Regions from separate parts of the Homo sapiens genome. Here regions 1, 2, 3, 5 and 6 are each linked to region 4. Evidence: promoter capture Hi-C in 16 types of primary human blood cells and fetal thymus (Javierre and others, 2016). All regions are on one chromosome and are shown on one strand. Each heading gives the region's core, a stretch centred on a gene start or on the middle of the fragment in contact. The rest is flanking DNA. Distances are from core to core; before and after follow the strand shown.

The links. Contacts are between HindIII fragments. The CHiCAGO score rates a contact against its expected background, and 5 or more counts as called.
Region 1: a fragment that was not itself captured here is called in contact with the fragment with the promoter of FOS in region 4 in 4 of 17 cell types (activated CD4 T cells, monocytes, neutrophils and 1 more); the score reaches 8.0 in activated CD4 T cells.
Region 2: a fragment that was not itself captured here is called in contact with the fragment with the promoter of FOS in region 4 in 1 of 17 cell types (monocytes); the score reaches 7.8 in monocytes.
Region 3: a contact is called between a fragment that was not itself captured here and the fragment with the promoter of FOS in region 4, in 1 of 17 cell types (monocytes). The highest score is 7.4, in monocytes.
Region 5: a contact is called between a fragment that was not itself captured here and the fragment with the promoter of FOS in region 4, in 4 of 17 cell types (monocytes, erythroblasts, activated CD4 T cells and 1 more). The highest score is 9.1, in monocytes.
Region 6: a contact is called between a fragment that was not itself captured here and the fragment with the promoter of FOS in region 4, in 1 of 17 cell types (monocytes). The highest score is 5.1, in monocytes.

Annotation. Positions count from the first base shown.
Region 1 is chr14:75,499,394-75,502,180 of GRCh38, reverse strand. No RefSeq gene overlaps it. Among named protein-coding and RNA genes, the nearest start is that of BATF, 22 kb to the left of the region's middle. The HindIII fragment of the contact is 4,882 bases long and covers 1-2,787 here.
Region 2 is chr14:75,437,588-75,440,741 of GRCh38, reverse strand. It overlaps JDP2 (Jun dimerization protein 2), which reads right to left. Exons shown (of 4, transcript NM_001135048.2): 2 at 2,621-2,844. The coding sequence starts at 2,821. Among named protein-coding and RNA genes, the nearest start is that of JDP2, 11 kb to the right of the region's middle. RefSeq lists a silencer at 1-46 and enhancers at 1-82, 237-446, 1,286-1,788, 2,796-3,154. The HindIII fragment of the contact is 3,402 bases long and covers 1-3,154 here.
Region 3 is chr14:75,418,621-75,421,478 of GRCh38, reverse strand. No RefSeq gene overlaps it. Among named protein-coding and RNA genes, the nearest start is that of JDP2-AS1, 7.6 kb to the left of the region's middle. RefSeq lists an enhancer at 2,223-2,272. The HindIII fragment of the contact is 4,896 bases long and covers 1-2,858 here.
Region 4 is chr14:75,277,507-75,280,568 of GRCh38, reverse strand. FOS (Fos proto-oncogene, AP-1 transcription factor subunit) reads right to left here and starts at 1,741. Exons shown (of 4, transcript NM_005252.4): 1 at 1,446-1,741; 2 at 441-692; 3 at 1-9. The coding sequence starts at 1,586. RefSeq lists enhancers at 1-823, 1,410-1,469, 824-1,751 and silencers at 1,840-1,899, 2,250-2,339. The HindIII fragment of the contact is 6,704 bases long and covers 1-3,062 here.
Region 5 is chr14:75,063,449-75,066,469 of GRCh38, reverse strand. It overlaps ACYP1 (acylphosphatase 1), which reads left to right and starts at 2,446. Exons shown (of 3, transcript NM_001107.5): 1 at 2,446-2,516; 2 at 2,909-3,000. The coding sequence starts at 2,917. RefSeq lists an enhancer at 2,106-2,275. The HindIII fragment of the contact is 1,854 bases long and covers 444-2,297 here.
Region 6 is chr14:75,046,985-75,049,974 of GRCh38, reverse strand. MLH3 (mutL homolog 3) reads left to right here. Exons shown (of 13, transcript NM_001040108.2): 2 at 257-2,990. The coding sequence starts at 320. Among named protein-coding and RNA genes, the nearest start is that of MLH3, 3.0 kb to the left of the region's middle. The HindIII fragment of the contact is 1,843 bases long and covers 716-2,558 here.

The DNA.
Region 1 (2,787 bases), core at 168-2,667, 220 kb before region 4:
TTTTGTCACCAAGATGAAACAAAGGTGACTCCAGTAAAAATCTATATAGAAAGTTGTAATTTGAAAAAGAAGCAAACCAAAATGTAATACAATTTTATGCAATTGGTAGATTGTAACAATAAAAAAAATCCATTTGACATTTGATCTTGCAACAGTTCCCTTTAGGCGGCTCAGTTTGAATAGCATAGGATTACATTTGCTTGTCTGCAGGTCAAACCTCACTATTTAGATTGTCACTAAAGAATACACAATAAAATTATTGTAATTACTGTCTTCTGTTTTCAATTCTTAGGAACAATCTTTGAATAAAGCATGGAAGACTAAGTTATAGTAAAGTAATATAATAAAGTCATGGTAGAATAAAAAATGACAATGTTATTTATAGTGGTGTTTCTTCCGGTTTTAATTTTATTATTATATTTTCTTGTTTGTATGTTTGAAATATTTCACAGTAAAAAAAATTAAAAGTAATTGTTTATTAGCTGACCATAATCAGAAATAGAAATAGGAGATACAGAGAAGGTATTTATAAGTTCCCCAGAGAACAGACTCTGAGACTCTAAGACTTGGGTATAGGGAGGTTGTTGGAGAGTGTTCTCAGAAACATCACCTGTGAGAGTTGAGGGAGCCAAGACCAGGCAGGGGAGGAGTGAGTAGATACAAGGCCCCAGTCAATGCTGCAAGAAGTTTGGGAGGAGGCAGATGGCTCTTCAAAGTTGCTCCATTGAGGCCAATAGGCTGGCTACACCATTATAACACATAACCCATACTGACCAGTCACTGGATATGGGCTGCCCTCTGGGAGGTGGCATAATCTCTCACATAATCTCCAGGTAACTCCCTTCAGCCAAAAGCAATTCTTGGAGAGGGACTCAGCTGAGACCTCTTAGCTGCCAGCACTCCCCAAAGTTGGGGAATCAAGGCCTTGGTCCTGAAAGGGATCTGGGCAGCACGCCACACCACAGTGTCCATTACAAGGCAGAAGGAAGTCTGCCTTGTGTATTTTCCTGAACTTACACTTTGTAAGTTAGACATACTGTAAAAGGTGACGGGCCAAGAAATTGAGATGTAAGTATATTATTTAAAGTTATAAAGATTCCGATAGACTTAATATAAAAATAAAAATTGGGAGGGAGAACATGCGGTGAAATATAACTGAGTTAAATTCCTCAATATTCAAAGTATAAAGGAGTTTTCAAACAATCTTTAAAGTAGATAAACTAAGAGAGAGAAGTATAAACATATTTTAGAATTCTGCCTATAACCACAGGAGGACAAAACCTAGATCTGATTTTAAATGTTTACGTCTAAAGAGTCAGTCTAGGGGTAGGCCGGGAGATGTGGAAAACTTATGTTTTCTTTATCCTTTTGTAACTGTTTGAAATTTTATTACCACACACATGAACCATTTTTATAGTAGTTAAGAACAATAGCAACAACAACAAAAAAATCTCCCCCTTAGGAGCTGCTTGGAAAAACTTTCTCCTTTTATCTCCTTCCAACAGATAAACTGATTCAATCTGGACTCTCACATCTTATTCCTGATCCGAAAGTGTTGCCCGGAAAGCATAAGATGACCAGGCTTAGATAATACTCTACAGTTTTGTTTTTAATTTTAATTTTTTTTTTTTTGAGACGAAGTCTTGCTCTGTCACCCAGGCTGGAGTGCAGTGGCATGATCACAGCTCACTACGGCCTCTGTCTCCCAGGTTCAAGCGATTCTTCTGCCTCAGCCTCCTGAGTAGCTGGGATTACAGATGCGCACCACCATGCCTGGCCAATTTTTGTATTTTTAGTAGAGATAGGGTTTCACCATGTCAGCCAGGCTGGTCTCAAACTCCTGACCTCAAGTGATCTGCCCACCTCGGGCTCCCAAAGTGCTGGGATTACAGGTGTGAGCCACCATGCCCAGCCTTATTTTTTTTTAATTAAAATTTAAAAACCATTTAAACCTATTTACTTATTTACCATTGTATGCCCTGCAGTTTTGAGTGAACATCCTAAGGCTACCCTTTTGTGAGTTCTCCTTTTGGTTTAGTCCTGGCTTGGTTAGCAGAACCTAAAAGAATAGCCACTTCCAAAAACACGCTGGTAGGAGGTGAGGTTCCAAAGCCCAGTCCTGCCAGCTCCTATGGTGGGAAGAGCGACTGGAGCCTGGGGCCCGGGACTCCTGGCAACCCCAGCTCTACAAATGGCTGTGGGACTCTGAGAAAGCCTCTCCCAGGCTCAGGCGTCATCTGTGGAGTGGGAATAATAAAAGTAGCCACACGCTTTGTTGGGAGAGTTCAATGAGATGATGACTAGAAAGCGCTTAGGCCTGAGCACGTGGTCACCGCTCCTTAAATGTCTGCTGTGTTGGTGTCACTGCCGCTACCTTTTAGTTGTCACCGCTGCTCCTGGATTCCTCTGAAAAAGCTCAGGGAGACGCCATCTTCAAGCCTCATTAGGCATCTCCTTTGTGAAGAGCTCAGCCCCAAGGGCAAAATAAGGTCCCAGTGCTTCCAACAGTCCCTACTCTCAAGCCAGAGACAAAGAGAACAACGTCAGAGTCAATTCTCTAACTACCTTAATGACACTGAGAGCTGAGCCCTGAGCCCCGGGAAAGTTCCTGTGATGTGGTTGGAAAACTCCGTATCCCCTACTCAGCATGATGTCTCCGCCATTTGCTGGCCTGGATGTCCTGGACCCAGACAAAGCTCGACCATTTTCTGCTGTGTATGGTGTTCAGGACAGATGGTCCAGGCAGAAAGTTCAGCTCACTCTACCCAAAAATTTCACAGCAAGACC
Region 2 (3,154 bases), core at 256-2,755, 160 kb before region 4:
GAGACCCGGCTGTAACGGCAGCCATCGTCCACCACACCAGGCCCCAGCGCTATCACTTCCCAGCAGTGTGACCCTGAGTGACTGAACCCCCTCCCTAGACCTCAAACTCTTCTCTACTATGGGGGTAACCTGGACTCCAGGACTGAATAAGGAATGAATGAAGTCATGCATGTTAAGCACTTTGTGCAGGTCCTGGGACATATTAAATGCTTAATGAGCTAGTATCTGATTATTATTAAAGAAACTTTTACTAGTCTAAAATGCCAATATGAAAATCCGCTCAAGGCAGTTTGCCATATGCAAATAGATCTTCAGACCATAGATTCTTCAGCTGCAAGTTTCTTTCCCCACCCCGCTTTAGGTTTTAGTTACTCCAAGAATTAGCTCTTCCCGCCCCTGGGGTCTGACCTAGGAAGCATTTGGAGGTCGGTTCGCAGTGCAGGGCTGGCATCTCTCTACATCGGTACAATCTCGCAGCTCCATCTGCCTCTTCGCCCCCACAACACTGCAGTCTGACAGCGAGGGAGAGGACATGCAAATATGCCCTAAAAACGGCTTGTTATTTTTGCGGCCTGGATGGTGCACGTCTGTGGGTGCCTGTGAGGACAGCACGTCACTGTCGGGTACAGGGCAGATGCCACCAATTTGGGGGTGGCTGTAAAATGTAAAAATACCCAACCCAAATAAAAGTGGCTTTTCCAAAAATAAAAAATAAAAAAAGGGAAGAGTTCCTCCAGTGCCTTTTGCAGAGGAGAGAGGTGTTAACTCAGCCCCCCAGGCGAATCCCAGCTTGACGACCTCTGCCCAAGACACCTGGCTCTTCATCAACCCCATGCGCAGCCTTAGTGCCCCCATGAAACTGCTCAGCTACTGGCTCTAAATGGCAATTTTACTGTGGAATGATCCAGAAACAGATGCTCTCAAGTTACAGACCTGGGAAGGTGAGGAGCAGAGGGCCAAAAGACAAGGACCCTCCATCGTGAAGACAGAACACTATATAAGCCGGGATGTGCCCCAACGACACATTGGCTTACAAGATCAATTCAGAAGAATGTAATCACCATCAACTCACAGCTTGTAATCCACAGTCTTTAGTAGGCACCTATGATGGACCTTATCCACGTGTCTTGAGCACAAATGGCTAACAGGGACCAGGCAGTAGAGGTAAATGAAGGCAGATGGTAGTAGCAAAAGCAAAACCAACAATGTAAGTAGGATCACGAATAACAGGGAGGTGCAGGGGCCTGTGGCCCACTGGAAAGAGGAAACAGTGAAGTGCCTCTGTCCACCCCACTTAGCCATTACCATGCCAGAACAGGGTAGTGTATGATGAGATCTTACAATTTTTTAATCAAAATTTTCAAATGAAATGGGGGTTCGCGTTTCTTTTAAAACACTGAGCCGGCCAAACAAAATACATCTGAGAGCCAGGTCCAGCCTGCAAATGGCCAGTTTGCCACCACGGCCAGTTTGCCACCACAGCCAAGCCCCCAGCAGTCCTCTGCAGTTTTTAGGTACCTATCAGGAGAAGGGGAGCTGAGAGATAGTTGCCTAATATCCCCAGCTCTCCCCTACGGGTACCCAGACACCCTTCTCCACGAAGAAAGTCCTCTCTCCAGCACTTCCAGCACTTCAGCCCTCCGAGCTCCCCCCAGGCTCATCTTTGCCTGTGAACTCTCCCTCCAAGCAGAGCTACCATTCCCAGATGCTCAGCTGCTTCCTGCGCCCTCCCGATCCCAGCCTCTTCCCCACCTCCCACCACAGGCTCCTCCTTTCCAGGGGGCAGCTACTCTGGCAGGCCTCTGAAGAAACGGCGCTGCTGGGAACCTTGCTGGGACAGGCCTTCAGAGAAACGGCCAGCCCTGGGCAAGTCGCCGGGGGCATGCCCTGCACAGATCCTCAGCCATGCCGGGGACTGCTGCTGCTCACCAGTGCCCCGAGAAAAAGGGCTCATGAGAGCTGCAGGTGCAAGGGACCTGAGGAGGAATTCCTTGCAAATGCCACATGTGGGTGCTCCACGTGTGGGTCCCGGGCAAACGCCATCTAAGGCGGACACTGCTGGCTGACCGAGGCCATGCCTAGCTCTGGCAGCTGCTTGGGAAGGGAGGCCACGCTACTCTTCCTCCAAGTTCCCTGGTTCAGCTGCAGAAAGGGCCAAGAGGGGTGGAGGTCACGATGTGACTAATGATAACAATTTTAAAAGATAACCTAATATTGGCATTCTCTTGTCTACTTTTCAAAACATGTACACATTCCCATTCCCATTATCTCCCCAATCCTCCCACCACCCCAGAGAGATGGCCAAGATATTACTATTCATTACTGTCATTATTATCACTCTTCCACCGCCCCCCAGAGAACCAGAGACAGGTTAAACATCCTCCCCTGGCCCAGTGCTTCTCAAGTGTTAATACGTCCACGAATCCCTGGGGGATCTTGTTAAGATGCAGATTCTGATACAGAAGGCCTGGGGCGAGGCCTGGGATTCCACATTTCTGATAACCCCAGGGTGGTACGGATGATACTGGTCCTCAGACCACACTTTGAACAGCAAGGTTAAGGTCCCATGGTGGGTTTAAGGCCAGACCTGGAATCTGCCAGGGGTAAAAGGCTCGCTCACCTCACTTTTCACGGGCTGGGGCCTCTTGCCCAGTTTCACCTCCAGGAAGTGCAAGGGTGCAATCATGGCCCCGAGGTTGCGGATGTCAGCGTATTTCAGCTCCTCCACAGTCAGGGCCGAGCTGGGGAGCCCGGTCAGGGGGCCAAGCCCTGGCAGGGAGCCTGTGGTCACCGAAGGGTCCGGGATCTGCCCAGGCATCATAGCAGGAGGAGTGGCAGGCCAGCCTGGAGTGGGCAGGAAAAGAGCAGGACAGTCAGCCAGGTTGGGGGCTCCAGGAGGGCTCAAGTCCCTCGTCTTGCCAGGACTGTGGCTTCTTTCACCAATGTTCCCCTGAATCCCTTTCCCACCCAGCTGCTCTTCCTGCCGTAAAGTCCTTCCTGTTATAGAGGAAAAGTTGCTCAATTAACTCACACCAAGGTCACCCTTGGCACTGCCAGAAGTGTCTGCCTTTTTTATTTTGAAGGCAATGCTTGACCCAATCATAGGCAACATGTATTCAGCCTTTGGTATGTGCCAGGCCCCATGGTAATCCTG
Region 3 (2,858 bases), core at 169-2,668, 140 kb before region 4:
ACAAAAACAAGCCAGGTGTGGTGGCACACACCTGTAGTTGCAGCGACTTGGGAAGCTGAGACAGGAGGTTCATCTGAACCCAGGAGTTTGAGGCTGCAGGGAGCTATGATTGCACCACTGCACTCCAGCCTGGTCTACAGAGCAAGACCCTATGCTTTAAATAAATAAGTAAATAAATATATAAATAAATAAACAGAAGCTAGTCTAGAACTCAGTCTTAGGAGATAAAGGAGTTAGGAGACAAAAGGTGTCCTAGAAGATCAAAGAAAGAAAGGCACAATCACAAAATCGCAAGTCTCCTCAAATCCCTTCTCCTTTAACACAGGCTTCCCAACTATCATGAAGGTCAAACCAGGTTGTCAGAGATAAGATCTGAGATGAGTTTGTGGTATTTGCTCAGATCTGAAAGAGTACATTATAGCTATAAAAATGTACAGTCTAGAGAGGCCTCAAGTTATTTTTAAGAGAGGGTTTAATCTGAAAATACATGCATTAGATATTATACTACAAAGATGTTTTCACTTTGCACTCACACAATGCTGCTTCTAGGAAAACCGAAGACCCTTCTCCACTTTTTTCTTTCTTCTTCATCCCCGTCTCCCACTCCCAGAAGATGTTGCTATATAGGTTGGTTAGATTCTTCCATAAAATGTTTGGGGCTGGGTGTGGTGGCTCACACCTGTAATCCCAGCACTTTTGGAGGCTGGGGTGGATGGATCACCTGAGGTCGGGAATTTGAGGCCAGCCTGATCAACATGGTGAAACCCCATCTCTACTAAAAATACCAAAAATATTAGCCAGACATGGTGGCAGGTGCCTGTAATCTCAGCTACTCGGGAGGCTGAGGCAGGAGAATAGCTTGAACCCAGGAGGCGAAGGTTGCAGTGGGATGAGATCACGCCATTGCACTCCAGCCTGGGCCACAAGAGCGAAACTCCATCTCAAAAAAAATAAAAAAGAGTTTGGGCCTCAGTTTCCTCAACAGTTAAATGTGGACAATAATGGTGCCTACATTAGAGGGTTTATGTGAAGATTAAATACGATCTTATGAAGCACCATATCAATACCTGCCACAAGCCCAATACATTTGGCTGTGTTCGTCACCACCACCACCATCACCATCATAACCATCAACATTATGGTTCAGTCAGCTCAAGTCCCCTACTTTGTCACCTTCTCAGATGGGTCAAACCCACAGGGATTTCTCCCTCTTCTGACCTTAACTAGCATTTCCCTTCTAACATCTAATCATATGCCATTTAAAATTTTTCTCCTTATTTCACATATGCATTATCATTCCAACATGCTTGAAGTTATCAGTAGGGACAGTATCTTAAAATTTTTAAACTCCTATAGCACCTACCATGTGCTGAGCTTATGTTTGGCACTCAATGTGCCAAATATATGATTGCATTTATTTAAATAAAAATGGAAGGAAATCATTTCTTTTGTGTCCCTGATAATGTTGAAAGCAGTCTGGGCTCTTGGCACTTAAAGAATACTTGTTGAACAGATGCTTGTTGAGCAGAGATGTAATTATCAGTCACACCTTATGCAGCACAAACTTGTAGAATATTAAAGCAAGGAAGAGGCCATATTTTACAGATGAGGAAATTGAGGTCCCCACTGATGACACAGATCTCATTGAACAAAAGTTATGGTGGAAATAATTCTCAGGACTCTTTTTCTGCTATGCATTTTAAAACAACCACCAATAAAAAGTTATTTCAGCAAATGTTTATTGAAGGGGAAAAAAAGTCCCTTTAGGTTTTCTGCGGGAGGTAGCGTTTCCTCTTACACTCAACAATTTGGTGGTGTGGTAGAGAGAGGTGTAGGGAGGAGCCAAGGAGGCCCCTATGACTGGGCTGTTGTGTGGGCCTAGGCGGGGGAGGGGTGGGATTTTCACTTCTTGGAAGGCTCTTCCAGCTCCAGGCAATCCGGGCCAGGTTTTGACACCTGCATGTCTCAGCACCCTGCCCTAAGTCAGCCAAAGTGTACCTTCTAGAGAGCCGCCCTCCCCGCTGAGTCCCTGGGCTCCTGGAAACTCACCCCCTGAGACCAGAATAGGTCCCCATAGACCAGAAAAGGCCCCCACACTCGGAACTGGAGGAATTGGCTCTCCTTAAAAAACGAGGATATGATTTTGCAATTAGAATGCACTCCTGTAAGAGGAGACACCTCTGCGCTGGCCTCAGGGGTGAGCTGGAGGTGGGAGGTGGGCGCTGAGGGCGGTCAGAAGGCCTCTGGAGGGGACCTTGGGACAAGGGCTTCTTTGGTAGCCCTGGCCAGGTTCACAGGCTTCCTTTCAGGTTTTGTGCCCACGATTCCCCCACCCATCTCCTCCCGCCAGCGTTTCTCTATCTCTTAAATACACCTTCCTAATCCTCTCCTTCCTCCTTTTTAAAGCCAGCCTTTCCTTTCAAATACTTCCTCAAATGCCAGCTTGTTATGTTTGTGCCCTGCCGTGTACGAGAGTATATTTCAGACCACAGAGTTGGATTTTTATTCATTCCTTCATTCAGTCATTCATTCATTCATTCATTCAATAAATATTTGATTATTTCTATGTGCAGGGCTCACAGCATCATGAAATGATGAGAAAGACTGGCCCAGTCCTTAGGTGGATGAATAATTAGCTAATTAACTAAATAATTATAAGCATAAAAGGGAGTTTTGAGAGGTGTTAAGAGACAGGTAGAAAAACAATTGGATCATTGGAAACTTGAAAAGAAAAATTAAAAAATAATAGTTAAAAATAAATAAATAAAAACCATTGGAACCAGCCTTCCTCCCTTTGTCGGAAACTCTTAATCAAATCAGCTTGGTGCCCTGGGACTATCCCACTCCACTGGCACAGG
Region 4 (3,062 bases), core at 492-2,991:
TGGAGATAACTAGAATAATCACAAAAAAAGACCGACATTCAGTAAAAGTGTCTGCCATCACCTCCATTCACCCACCCCAGTAGAACTGGCTCCTGCAGCTTCCCTGCTTCCTGGCACCCCACTGTGAAACCATTTCTGACCTGCAGTTGCAGACTAGGTGTGACTTGCATTTAAAATAAGATCCTCAGCAAGAGAACAAAGAAGAGCCCAGTCTGAAAGCATGCGGTAAGAAACTTAGGGAAGAAACTATGAGAGTACTTCTTAGGGTGAGACTCAGAGTCTGAGTTGGGATGGAATGGGCTTGGAGCCAGGGCTCCCAGTTACGGATGTGCAGCCAGCCCCATCAGTGGCTTCATCCTCTGTACTGGGCTCCTGCATCTCCGGGGCTGCTTCCCACCCAGCCCCCACATTCCCAGGAAGAGTACGCTAGAGTTCCTCACCTGTTCCACCTTGCCCCTCCTGCCAATGCTCTGCGCTCGGCCTCCTGTCATGGTCTTCACAACGCCAGCCCTGGAGTAAGCCCCAGCGGAGGGGGCGGGGACTCCGAAAGGGTGAGGGGCTCTGGTCTGCGATGGGGCCACGGAGGAGACGAGGGCGGGCTGCACCAGCCACTGCAGGTCCGGACTGGTCGAGATGGCAGTGACCGTGGGAATGAAGTTGGCACTGGAGACGGCCAGGTCCGTGCAGAAGTCCTAGAACAAAACAGAAGGGGAAAGCCGACGTGAGCGAGCAGGTTCCGGACACAGGTGGGGCGAGTTCCCAGTGCCGCATGCAGCAGTGAAGAGAAACGATCCTGCCACGGACATTTCATCTTAAATGTCCCTCATCCTGGATGAAAGGTCTCCCCCTTTTCCTCCCAGGCATTCCGCAGCGCAGTGCCTGTCTCTTCCATCCTGCCGCTGCGTTCCCGTTATCCCTTCAGCATCACTTGCTTGAAAGGGGGTTTGTTATAAATATCCCTGACGTCTGCGCTGACGCAGGCGCCGCTCCGGAGTCTCCAGAATGAACTCGCTTTTTATCAATGAAACTGCCTTACACACCCGCCCGCTGCACCCTCCTCCCTCATCCCTCCTCCGTGCTCCAGGCTGCCGGGGGAGGGGGGATTGCCGCTTTCTGCCACCTCCCCGGAGAAGCCAGGCTCTAGTTAGCGAGTTTGTGCTTGGGACACGTCTGCTCCAGCTAATGTCAGAGATCCGTCCTGGAGTGCAGACCAGAGGTTGCTCAGAACGAACCTGCCTCCCGAAGGGGGAACCAATTCTTACTATGGCAAGCGTGCGTGCGCTCAGAGCAAGTCCCGAGCCCCCGAGCCGGCACCGCTCCGGCCACGGCAGCCTCCCTCCAGGCACAAGGGAGCCCCCTACTCATCTACTGGAGCGTCCCGCCCGGTGTCTCCTCCTCCGCGACCCCAAGCCCCCGGCCCCGCGGCGACGGGAAGCCAGCCTTACCTGCGCGTTGACAGGCGAGCCCATGCTGGAGAAGGAGTCTGCGGGTGAGTGGTAGTAAGAGAGGCTATCCCCGGCCGGGGACGCGCTGCTGCAGCGGGAGGATGACGCCTCGTAGTCTGCGTTGAAGCCCGAGAACATCATCGTGGCGGTTAGGCAAAGCCGGGCGAGGGGCCGAGGGGCGGAGACAGGTGGGCGCTGTGGAGCAGAGCTGGGTAGGAGCACGGTCACTGCTCGTTCGCTGCGCCGCGGCCGCCGGCTCAGTCTTGGCTTCTCAGATGCTCGCTGCAGATGCGGTTGGAGTACGAGGCGCCGCAGCCACTGCTTTTATAACAAGCGTTTTATGAATGAGTGTAAACGTCACGGGCTCAACCACGGTGGCGCCAGAGGGGTGGCGCGCGGGCCTGGGCGCTTCTGCGGCCGCCCGGCTGCGTCCCCAGCGCTCGCAGCTCCCTGCCCCCGCCTTGGCGCGTGTCCTAATCTCGTGAGCATTTCGCAGTTCCTGTCTCAGAGGTCTCGTGGGCCCCCCAAGATGAGGGGTTTCGGGGATGGCTCCCCCCAGGGCTACAGGGAAAGGCCGTGGAAACCTGCTGACGCAGATGTCCTAATATGGACATCCTGTGTAAGGGGGGAGGGATTGACGGGAACTGCTCGCGGGCTGCAGCCAACACCGAGGGTGCAGTGCGGGGGGAGGCGGGGGCCGCGGCTGGGGGAGGGGAGGCGGGAACGGCGCAGAATGAGAGAGAACATTCGCACCTGGTTCAATGCGGACCCTTGTTCCCGAGGTCGGGGGGGATGGGGCAGAGAGCGCCTTTTTACCCTTGTACGGAAACTGAAGACAGTTCTGAGGCTCAGAGATAGGAGAAACGGCATCGAGTACAGGACCCCGAGGACTTAAGCCTCGGCTCCCGAAGGAATGCGCCCCTACCCCCATCCCCAATTCTAGCCCTAATTCAGTGCAAAGCGTGGAAGCAGACCTTCATCCCCTAACCTCCAGCCCTCGGGCTCGAGCAATACTAGCACTGTTCCTGCGTTTGGAAGCAGAAAGTGGAGGATCCAAAATAAGAGAATACGATAACCTACTTTACGATACTGGGTACTTTATTTATTTATTTTTTTAAAGAAGACAGCGCATTTATTTATTTATTTTTCTCGGCCATGTGTGGGAATATTAAGGAAACTGTCAAATCCCTGAGACACCAGCAGATAAACACTGTGCAAAACCTACGTGCGAAGACATTTGAAGGGGGTGTCTGCCCGGTTCTGAGCTGGGCCCCAGGGGTAGGGAGTGCGAGGTGTGGTTATGTGGGCAGGGTGGTCAGTTCGGGATGACAAGGCGGGGTGTGCTTCCTGCGGGGAACTCAAATCTGCGCTGAGGGCTGGTTCGGTCCCGCCAGGAAGCTGTGCTTACGGGAGCCCGCAGCGGGTGATTTTCCAGCGCGGACTTGGAGGGTGGAGGACGGGGGCTGGAAGGACAGTGTCCAGCTGCGCCTGGGCGGAATACCTCGACTGCTGGGACCCCAGGAGCGGCTCCACGTCCTGGAACACGGGGCTTTGGGGAGGCAAGGTGCTCCAGAGTGTGCCACGCCCCCCAATCTCCTGCCCTGCTGCGTAGGACAG
Region 5 (3,021 bases), core at 121-2,620, 210 kb after region 4:
GCTCTTGCCTTCAATATCTGCTCTTCAAACCCATCCTTCATGCTGCAGGCAAAATAATCAGTCTAAATATTTCTCCACCCCCCCCCAGCTTTATTAAAATATAATTGACAAGCAAAAATTATATCTATATTTGCAGTGTACAAAGTGATGTTTTGATAATGTATGCATTGTGCAGTGATTAAATCAAGCTAATTACTAAATGCTTCTGATCCTACCATTTCCCTCCCCAGTAGCTTCTTCTTTACCTATAGAATAAAGTTGAAATGCATAATTTAGCATGGCATCTCTACCTCCCAGATTAGGTCCAGCCTACCTTTTCAGTTTTGCCTCCCCTTAATAAGCCACAGAGTTCAACCCAGTGAGTCTCATCCCTGACTGTGTGTTAAGACTACTTGGAAAGCAATATCTAGGGGTGAGGCCTGAGGATTAACATTTTTAAAGCTTCCCCAAAGATCCTGATGCACAAGCAGGGTAGCAAACCCCTGGTCTAGCCACAACTGGCTACTTGTACTTCTTCATCTCCATGGTACTACATTACTCTAAGCTCCACATACTGGGAGCTGGTAGAGCATAGCATTCATGGGGATTGACTCTGGAACCAAATCCCAGCTCCATCACTTACTGGTTGTGTGACCTTGGATTAAATGCTGTTTCCTCCAAGAACTCTTTCCCTGTCTTCCCAATCAGAATTAATTTGTTTGCTCCTTTGTAATATTTTCTGTCCTTGTTATAGCACAGGGCTGGTTCCTGATGAGCTCTCAATGGATTTTCATGGAATTAAATTATCATGCCATATATTTTATTGTCATTATTTGCATGCATTTGTGCCCCTACACTAAATTAAAAACTCTTTGAGGGCAAAGATTTTATATCATTCATCTTTGTATATCCTAGAGTGCCCCATTCGTATTAGACACTCAGTAAGTTTTGAATTCTATAAACTATTTTTTAAATGAATTTTAGAGAAAGAAATACCATTAGCAAGATACTCTATTTAGAGTTATTTTCAAATATTGCCAAGTACAACATTCAATCCAGCTTGTTCACCACCAACCCCCCACCTCTCAGCACTAAGGTTGTATGATTCTCTAGGATATGGATCCTCACTCTAGCGGGGAACTAGCAGAATGATGAATTTCCGTGCCTACTGTCACAAACCCATATCTCATTGTCAAGTCTGCCAACCTGGCATATTCACATAAGGAGTCTTTACGTTATGAAGAGGTGTAATGTATACAGTCAATCCACAGAGGATCAATAAACACCACAGTTTTCCTTCACACACATGAATCATAAGGGTAGCTGGATTCAAATGTTTACACATCAACTCTAATTTTAACCATCTTCATCCACATCCCCCTTGACAATTCCCTGTTCCCAAAATAAATTCGTGTAGTTTGGCCATTTGGCTTAGATTGACTGACTCAACTGTAATTCTGGAGCCATGAGTTATTTTGCTTGTGCTCTTGCTTTATTTGTGTAGTTAGCTGGTTATTTGTTCAAGCATTATTTGACATTTTCTTAGTAAAGGAGACCGGTGAGTAGCTTCCAGAAGCCCAGAAGCAGACATAACCTCCATTGGGACCTCCTGTGCACTTATGCCCCGTAATCCCCTATTCCAGATTGTTATGACCCAAACTTTAAGGAGAACTGAATGAAAAAGGACAGAAAGGTTAAATGTATCCTACTCAACATATTTATGATGTTTATTTTTTTATTTATTAATTTATTTATTTGAGTCAGAGTCTCCCTCTGTTGCCCAGGCTGGAGTGCAGTGGGGCAATCTCGGCTCACTGCAGCCTCCACCTCCCAGGTTCAAGCGATTCTCCTGCCTCAGCCTCCCGAGTAGCTGGGATTACAGGCGCCCGCCACCATGCCCGGCCAATTTTTGTATTTTTGGTAGAAACGGGGTTTCACCATGTTGGCCAGGCTGCTCTCGAACTCCTGACCTCAAGTGATTCGCCCGTGTCGGCCTCCCAAAGTGCTGAGATTACAAGCTATTTATGATGTTTAATGTGTGCTGTTTGTCTCTCACCTCCAGAATTAAGCTCCTCAGGACAGGGATCCTGTTTTGTTCACTGATGTTTGCCTGGTCACCTAGAACAGGTGCCTGGCACACAGTAGCTGTCAGTCAGTATTTAATTGAATGATTGAATGTATCCCCATGTACTTCTTCGTCTATGCCTTTCTCCTCATGAGAAAATGAGAAGAGGGTTGCGCTTGTTGACTGAGATGCGATGAGGGCTAGGTTTGTGGAGGCCCAGCCGAGTTCCTGGACAGATCCCCAACCCAAAGCTTTTGGGTTGCCGGACAACCGCGTCCTGAAATCCCACCTTCTGGGCGGGCCCGGGCCGAGGCGCCGTCTCTGATTGGTCAGCTGGAGGTGATGGGCATGAGCGACAGCGAAGGAGCAGCTACACACTAAACTTCCGGGCGCGGAGGTTTGCGCGCCTTGGTGAGCCGTTGGCGTGGTGGTCCCGGAGTGATCCTGGCAGCCGGTGGGGAAGACAAGGAGGGTGAGCCGCCAGGGGCCCCCAGGGTGTGCTTCTCAGGTCGATTAGCCCTAAAATGTTAGTAGCAGGGGATTCTGGGAGTTAGTAGCAGGGAATTCTGGTAGTGAGGGAGCGGGACCGGGCATGGATGTAAGGAGGTCATCGGTCCTCAGGTTATTTCCCCAGAAGAGGCTTCAGCGGGCAGCTGCGATCCGAAGCTCCCTCTCCCGGCGTCTGGTTCTTCCTTCACACACACCTTATCACATCCACTCACGTTTCCATTTCCAGGACCTTGAAGTCGGGGAGAGGTCGCAATGGTTAAGGATGGACAGGGGTGGGTGTGGCCCTTTCTGACTCAGGCTTGCGGGTCCTGGAATAATAGCCCTTCACTCTTCTGCTTTCCTGGTTTCTGACAGGTTTGAGCATGGCAGAAGGAAACACCCTGATATCAGTGGATTATGAAATTTTTGGGAAGGTGCAAGGGGTGTTTTTCCGTAAGCATACTCAGGTATGTGGCCTGCAGGCTTTG
Region 6 (2,990 bases), core at 388-2,887, 230 kb after region 4:
TTATGATTTCACTTTAGGACATGTGGGATTTAGAAAGGAGCATTGAAAATTATGAAATTATGAATTTTTTTTGGATGTTAATCCATTGCACCAAGCATGAGCTGTGCCTAGAGATCAGCGGTATAACTTTGTTTTGCTTTGTTTCACAATTTGGTTTAATAAGAGTGATTTCATTTACCTCAAGTGCTATTTCTTCATAATGCTGTGTAATGCTAAAGCTTTGATTATGTGCGTGTGTGGTTTTTTTCTCCAATAGGCAATTATTTCCAGTCAGAGAAGGAAACCAGTGCCTGGCATTCTCACCATCTTTCTACCTACCATGATCAAGTGCTTGTCAGTTGAAGTACAAGCCAAATTGCGTTCTGGTTTGGCCATAAGCTCCTTGGGCCAATGTGTTGAGGAACTTGCCCTCAACAGTATTGATGCTGAAGCAAAATGTGTGGCTGTCAGGGTGAATATGGAAACCTTCCAAGTTCAAGTGATAGACAATGGATTTGGGATGGGGAGTGATGATGTAGAGAAAGTGGGAAATCGTTATTTCACCAGTAAATGCCACTCGGTACAGGACTTGGAGAATCCAAGGTTTTATGGTTTCCGAGGAGAGGCCTTGGCAAATATTGCTGACATGGCCAGTGCTGTGGAAATTTCGTCCAAGAAAAACAGGACAATGAAAACTTTTGTGAAACTGTTTCAGAGTGGAAAAGCCCTGAAAGCTTGTGAAGCTGATGTGACTAGAGCAAGCGCTGGGACTACTGTAACAGTGTATAACCTATTTTACCAGCTTCCTGTAAGGAGGAAATGCATGGACCCTAGACTGGAGTTTGAGAAGGTTAGGCAGAGAATAGAAGCTCTCTCACTCATGCACCCTTCCATTTCTTTCTCTTTGAGAAATGATGTTTCTGGTTCCATGGTTCTTCAGCTCCCTAAAACCAAAGACGTATGTTCCCGATTTTGTCAAATTTATGGATTGGGAAAGTCCCAAAAGCTAAGAGAAATAAGTTTTAAATATAAAGAGTTTGAGCTTAGTGGCTATATCAGCTCTGAAGCACATTACAACAAGAATATGCAGTTTTTGTTTGTGAACAAAAGACTAGTTTTAAGGACAAAGCTACATAAACTCATTGACTTTTTATTAAGGAAAGAAAGTATTATATGCAAGCCAAAGAATGGTCCCACCAGTAGGCAAATGAATTCAAGTCTTCGGCACCGGTCTACCCCAGAACTCTATGGCATATATGTAATTAATGTGCAGTGCCAATTCTGTGAGTATGATGTGTGCATGGAGCCAGCCAAAACTCTGATTGAATTTCAGAACTGGGACACTCTCTTGTTTTGCATTCAGGAAGGAGTGAAAATGTTTTTAAAGCAAGAAAAATTATTTGTGGAATTATCAGGTGAGGATATTAAGGAATTTAGTGAAGATAATGGTTTTAGTTTATTTGATGCTACTCTTCAGAAGCGTGTGACTTCCGATGAGAGGAGCAATTTCCAGGAAGCATGTAATAATATTTTAGATTCCTATGAGATGTTTAATTTGCAGTCAAAAGCTGTGAAAAGAAAAACTACTGCAGAAAACGTAAACACACAGAGTTCTAGGGATTCAGAAGCTACCAGAAAAAATACAAATGATGCATTTTTGTACATTTATGAATCAGGTGGTCCAGGCCATAGCAAAATGACAGAGCCATCTTTACAAAACAAAGACAGCTCTTGCTCAGAATCAAAGATGTTAGAACAAGAGACAATTGTAGCATCAGAAGCTGGAGAAAATGAGAAACATAAAAAATCTTTCCTGGAACATAGCTCTTTAGAAAATCCGTGTGGAACCAGTTTAGAAATGTTTTTAAGCCCTTTTCAGACACCATGTCACTTTGAGGAGAGTGGGCAGGATCTAGAAATATGGAAAGAAAGTACTACTGTTAATGGCATGGCTGCCAACATCTTGAAAAATAATAGAATTCAGAATCAACCAAAGAGATTTAAAGATGCTACTGAAGTGGGATGCCAGCCTCTGCCTTTTGCAACAACATTATGGGGAGTACATAGTGCTCAGACAGAGAAAGAGAAAAAAAAAGAATCTAGCAATTGTGGAAGAAGAAATGTTTTTAGTTATGGGCGAGTTAAATTATGTTCCACTGGCTTTATAACTCATGTAGTACAAAATGAAAAAACTAAATCAACTGAAACAGAACATTCATTTAAAAATTATGTTAGACCTGGTCCCACACGTGCCCAAGAAACATTTGGAAATAGAACACGTCATTCAGTTGAAACTCCAGACATCAAAGATTTAGCCAGCACTTTAAGTAAAGAATCTGGTCAATTGCCCAACAAAAAAAATTGCAGAACGAATATAAGTTATGGGCTAGAGAATGAACCTACAGCAACTTATACAATGTTTTCTGCTTTTCAGGAAGGTAGCAAAAAATCACAAACAGATTGCATATTATCTGATACATCCCCCTCTTTCCCCTGGTATAGACACGTTTCCAATGATAGTAGGAAAACAGATAAATTAATTGGTTTCTCCAAACCAATCGTCCGTAAGAAGCTAAGCTTGAGTTCACAGCTAGGATCTTTAGAGAAGTTTAAGAGGCAATATGGGAAGGTTGAAAATCCTCTGGATACAGAAGTAGAGGAAAGTAATGGAGTCACTACCAATCTCAGTCTTCAAGTTGAACCTGACATTCTGCTGAAGGACAAGAACCGCTTAGAGAACTCTGATGTTTGTAAAATCACTACTATGGAGCATAGTGATTCAGATAGTAGTTGTCAACCAGCAAGCCACATCCTTAACTCAGAGAAGTTTCCATTCTCCAAGGATGAAGATTGTTTAGAACAACAGATGCCTAGTTTGAGAGAAAGTCCTATGACCCTGAAGGAGTTATCTCTCTTTAATAGAAAACCTTTGGACCTTGAGAAGTCATCTGAATCACTAGCCTCTAAATTATCCAGACTGAAGGGTTCCGAAAGAGAAACTCAAACAATGG